Linked DNA regions of Homo sapiens: region 1 is linked to region 2. The links are contacts of gene promoters, found by promoter capture Hi-C in blood cells and fetal thymus (Javierre and others, 2016). All regions are on one chromosome and are shown on one strand. Each heading gives the region's core, a stretch centred on a gene start or on the middle of the fragment in contact. The rest is flanking DNA. Distances are from core to core; before and after follow the strand shown. Region 1 overlaps HMOX2 (heme oxygenase 2). Region 2 holds the start of ALG1 (ALG1 chitobiosyldiphosphodolichol beta-mannosyltransferase).

What was found. The method cuts DNA at HindIII sites, captures the fragments that hold promoters and counts their contacts. A CHiCAGO score of 5 or more calls a contact.
Region 1: a fragment that was not itself captured here is called in contact with the fragment with the promoter of ALG1 in region 2 in 1 of 17 cell types (neutrophils); the score reaches 7.2 in neutrophils.

The regions. Positions count from the first base shown.
Region 1 is chr16:4,479,114-4,481,813 of GRCh38, forward strand. All of the region lies in intron 1 of HMOX2 (heme oxygenase 2), which reads left to right. LOC124903636 (a long non-coding RNA gene) reads right to left here. Exons shown (of 3, transcript XR_007064964.1): 2 at 2,651-2,700; 3 at 151-448. Among named protein-coding and RNA genes, the nearest start is that of HMOX2, 4.1 kb to the left of the region's middle. The HindIII fragment of the contact is 5,105 bases long and covers 1-2,700 here.
Region 2 is chr16:5,070,396-5,073,095 of GRCh38, forward strand. It overlaps ALG1 (ALG1 chitobiosyldiphosphodolichol beta-mannosyltransferase), which reads left to right and starts at 1,448. Exons shown (of 13, transcript NM_019109.5): 1 at 1,448-1,662; 2 at 2,556-2,633. The coding sequence starts at 1,455. RefSeq lists enhancers at 1,478-1,537, 1,568-1,677, 1,848-1,907. The HindIII fragment of the contact is 10,202 bases long and covers 1-2,700 here.

The sequences.
Region 1 (2,700 bases), core at 182-2,681, 590 kb before region 2:
GCACTCCAGCCTGGGCGACAAGAGCAAAACTTCATCTCAAAGAAAAAAAAATTCTATCAGAGTGAACAATAAGTAGGATGCTAGCACATACCTGTAATCTCAGCTACTTGGGAGGCTGAGGCAGGAAGTTAATACTTGATGAGCCTAAGTTTTTGGTGTCTTTGGATGCTGCTTGTCGATCTAAGGGGTTTCCAAACGCTTCTTTTTTGGTAAAATTGGGATTATGACTAGGAATCTGTTTTTTGGAGTTTCCCAGGTGATCCTTGTTTGGGGTCCTTGTCTAAGGCACAGGCTGGAAAGAGGAGGGAGTGGACTGGCAGGGAAGATAGAGCAGTAAGCGAATAGAATACCTGGGGAAAGGGACGCCAGAAGAGTGATTGTTGTCTGGTGAACTGTGCTGTCAGTGTGTATGTCAGAAGCCAACAAAGTGGATATTCTCTTCACTCAGCTTAGGGAAAAAATTAATTTTTGTTTCACAGATAGATTCGTTTCCTTCCCAGGAGTATTATAGGCCTAATTACTGTCATAGTTCTCAGTAACTTTAAAAAGGCTGTGGGGAAGAATGGCATAACAGACTAGTATCTTGTACCCAGCCTGCCTTTTTCTTATTCTATTTTTTTTTTTTTTTTTTTTTTTTTTTTTTTTGAGACAGTCTTGCTCTGTCACCCAGGCTGGAGTGTGGTGGCACAATCTCAGCTCACTGCAACCTCCGCCTCCTGGGTTCAAGCGATTCTCCAGCCTCAGTCTCCTGAGTAGCTGGGATTACAGGCGTATGCCACCATGCCTGGCTAATTTTTGTATTTTTAGTAGAGATGAGGTTTCACTATGTTGGCCGGGCTGGTCTCCTACTCCTGACCTCAGGTGATCCGTCCACCTTGGCCTCCCAAAGTGCTGGGGTTATAGGCATGAGTCGCTGCGCCCGGCTTTTTTATTTTTTATTTTTTATTTTTTTGAAACAGAGTCTGGCTCTTTCACCCAGGCTGGAGTACAGTGATCTGATCTGAGCTCACTGCAATCTCTGCCTCTGGGGTTCAAGCAGTTCTCCTGCCTCAGCCTTCCAAGTAACTGGGACTACAGGCATGCACCACCATGCCTGGCTAATTTTTGTACTTTTGGTAGAGATGGGGTTTCGCCATGTTGGCCACGCTGGTCTCCAGCTCCTGACCTCAAGCGAACCACCCTCCTTGGCCTCCCAAAGTGCTAGTATTACAGGCGTGAGCCACAGCACCCGGCCTTTTTTTTTTTTTTTTCCTTAGAGTCTTGCTCTGTCACCAGGGCTGGAGTGCAGTGGCGCCGTCTCGGCTCACTGCAACCTCTGCCTCCTGGGTTCAAGTGATTCTCCTTCCTCAGCCTCCCTAGTAGCTGGGATTACAGGTGTGTGCCACCACACCCAGTTAATTTTTGTATTTTTAGTAGAGACGGGGTTTCACCATGCTGGCCAGGCTGGTCTCAAACTCCTGACCTCAAGTGGTCCACCCACTTTGGCCTCCCAATTAGAATTAGAGGTGGAGCGACCGTGCCCGGCTAAGGGCCTACTATTTTTTTTTTTTTTTTTTGAGACAGAGTTTCACTCTTGTCACCCAGGCTGGAGTGCAGTGGTGTGACCTTGGTTCACTGCAACTTCCACCTCCCAGGTTTAAGCGATTCTCCTGCCTCAGCCTCTGGAGAAGCTGGGATTATAGGCGTCTGCCACCACGCCTGGCTAATTTTTTGTATTTTTAGTAGAGACGGGGTTTCACCATGTTAGTCAGGCTGGTCTCAAACTTCTGATGTCAGGTGATCCACCTACCTCGGCCTCCCAAAGCATTGGGATTACAGGCGTGAGCCACCGCGCCCGGCCAGGCCTCGTATTTTTGCTTTTGCTCATGTTTTCATGTCTGAGATAGAGGGCCTACTATTAAAGCACTGTGCTGAGGCTGCAAGAAGGTACTAGTGTGATTAAAACAATCTGGTCCGGGCGCGGTGGCTCGCACCTGTAATCCCAGCACTTTGGGAGGCGGAGGCGGGCGGATCACGAGGTCAGGAGATCGAGACCATGCTGGCTAACACGGTGAAACCCCGTCTCTACTAAAAAATACAAAAAAAATTAGCCGGGCATGGTGGCGGGCGCCTGTAGTCCCGGCTACTCGGGAGGCTGAGGCAGGAGAATGGCGGGAACCCGGGAGGCGGAGCTTGCAGTAAGCAGAGATCGCGCCACTGCGCTCCAGCCTGGGAGACAGAGCGAGACTCCGTCTCAAAAAAAAAAAAAAAAAGAAAAAAATAAAACAATCTGGCATTATAATGCCATCCTGATTTTAGTTAATCTAGTTGACTGGCTGGCCTCATAAGTAGCTGTGATGATCATAATTTTTATGCGAAACACCTGTCATTGAGCATACAGGTGTACTGAAAGAATTGGGTGGAACAGGGTATTTGAAATCAGAATTGTTCTGGAAAGTCGGGTACATAAAGCTCTATCTTTAGCACAGTTGTCTGTATTGCACAATTAATATTTATAGAATGGTACACCTTATGTTATCTTTTTATTTTTCCACCTAACTCTCTCTCTAGATTGAAAGGTACTTGACGTGCAGAGCAAGATCTTATCTTTCTTTGTAGTCACAGTACTCAAGAGGGTGATAAATGTTTGTTGATGATAATGTAATGTCACCTGTCCAAGTGTAGCCATCATCTTCAGTAGTTACTTGATCTGCTGTTGTG
Region 2 (2,700 bases), core at 198-2,697:
TGCCGCTGCCAGCATGTTTGTATGCCCATCCCTGCTGTCTGCAGATACTTACTCGTCCTTCCTTTCCTTCTGAAAGCTCGGGTTTCAAGGTCTGGCTTAAGGCGTGAGCTGTCCCTTCTGAATCCATAGAAAGGGAGTGATGGGGCAATTGTGAAAAGCAGATGCAAAGTGTGCCAAGCCCTGAGCTGAGCCCAGGGACACTGGGGAGCCACATCCATGTGGGCTACCCTGTCCCGTGGGTGCTGCCTGTGGTCCTCATCAGGGGAGGAGTCTTGTTTGTTTGTTGAATACGGTCTGGGTGGTGGCTCTCCAGGTTCTGCGGCAGCTCCCAAGTGGAGGCAATGGGGTAGCATCACCAGTGAGCTCTTGGTGTTTCTCTGCAAGGGACCGCTTTCAAAGAAAAAAGGTCATGATACGGTTTGGCTGTGTCCCCACCCAAATCTCATCTTGAATTCCCATGTGTTGTGTGGAAGGGACCCAGTGGGAGGTAACTGAATCATGGGGTCAGGTGTTTCCCGTGCCGTTCTCGTGATAGTGAATAAGCCTCACGAGACCTGATTGTTTTATAAAAAGGAGTTTTCCTGCAGAAGCTCTCTTTTTGCCTGCTGCCATCTATGTAAGAGGTGACTTGCTCCTCCTTGCCTTCTGCCATGATGGTGAGGCCTTCCCAGCCATGTGGACCTGTAAGTCCATGAAACCTCTTTCTTATGTAAAGTGCTCAGTCTCGGGTATGTCTTTATCAGCAGCATGAAAACGGACTAATACAGGCCATCGCAGAGACACACATTAAACTCTCACTATGGCTACTTTGGGAGGTGAAATTGGAGGGTCACTGTGGAAATTTCCTTTCTAGCCATTGATACTTAAGCAAAATCATGATGGTGTTTACTTCCTTGTTTGTCCTTCCCCCTCTCTACCTTTTAAATGTTTTATTAAGTGTGATGTACACCCTGGAAAATGGGCAGGTAATCTGCTGCTTGAGGTACCGCCCCAAATGCAGCACACCCACATTACCAGCACCAGATCCAGAAGCAGAACCCACCAGCCCCTAACTTCTAACAGCGAGGACTGGTTTTTATTTACATAGACGGAACTCTACAATTCGTACTCGTCAGCATCTGGCTCCTTTATCAATGTTAGGATGAAATTTATCCAAATTCTTGTGTCACTATATTTTGAAATTATCTTTGAATCCTGAAGAGAGTTCTTAGATCCCAATACAGTAACAGCTTTACTTTAGTCGGGGAAATACACTGGTGTGTAGGGAATCTGGTGTATGTGCGTGTGTCCTACTACTACTAATTCTTGGCCCCGAGGGGCTCCTGGGGGTTCCCCGGGCCCCTGTTAGGGAACCGCGTCCACTTCTCGCCCTCTCGGCCCACTTCGGAGGCTCGGTCTGCGGCTGCGCACAGCGCGAGGAAGCGCGGTCACGTGACTGCTGCGGGCCAGCCAAGATGGCGGCCTCATGCTTGGTCCTGCTGGCGCTGTGTCTGCTGCTGCCGCTGCTGCTGCTGGGAGGATGGAAGCGCTGGCGCCGGGGGCGGGCGGCCCGGCATGTAGTAGCGGTGGTGCTGGGCGACGTGGGCCGCAGCCCCCGTATGCAGTACCACGCGCTGTCGTTGGCCATGCACGGCTTCTCGGTGACCCTCCTGGGGTTCTGCAGTGAGTGGCCAAGGGTCTGGGAGGGACGATGCTCTCTCAGCCGTTGATCCTCGGTTCTAACCGCCCCGGGGAGTCGAGGCGGAAGTGCTCCTTTAGTCGCCGCCTTTGGGCAGCTCTCCGAGATTAGACGAGCGGTTCTGCCCCAGCCTTTCCTGGGTGGGTCTCTAGGTATAGCCGGCGTTAATCTTGCCACGTGTCAGAAGTGTGTTAAGTGAATCCATTGCGTGGTCTCACGTAATTCTCCTAGTAAGTGGAACCCAGGTGCGTGGAACTCCAGGGCTAGTGCTGGTAGCTACGTCCCTGTGCAGCTACCCTTGTCAGGCTATGTCTGAGCTGACAGGATATTTCATTCCTCATCCCTCAACGCAGAGCTCTGCAGACAGATGTTTTCATTTGTTCTTCATGTCCAGCTTTTCCCCACAGTGTGCAGGGCAGCGGTGTCTGCTCCCTCATTATTCTCCACGTTGGTATCTTGAGAGGGTAGCTCAACCCCATCTCAGGAAGAAGTGGGAACAGCACTAGTTGCCTTTAATCCCTGTTTAGAATCTGCTATCCTAGGGTGATGGGGTAGAGTGGGACTTCCTAGGGATGGCTCTGTGGTGGGAAAATTCCACTATCCAGACAATCTAGATTAGTTTAATTGAGCACCTACTGTTTGCCAGGCATCATGTTAAGTGAAGGTAGGTAAGATTCAGGCCCTATCTCTGTGTGCCTCCTAGAGCAATCTGAACAAGAATTGGCCGCATTCTCTGTTCTGGCTAGTGAGGAGCAGAGAGAGGTTTTGAAATATCTTACTTTCCAAAACACTGTCCGTGATTCAGCCTGAGTTGGGAGATTATCTGACTTTAGATTGCTGCTTCTGGTACATTAAAGGGATCATTCTCATTTTTCAGACTCCAAACCCCATGATGAGCTCTTGCAGAACAACAGAATTCAGATTGTGGGGTTGACAGAACTTCAGAGTCTTGCAGGTAGGATGCCGTCAACTCCAGAATCCTCTGAATCCATGGGCTGGGGGCAGGGGGTGTTCGTTTGAAA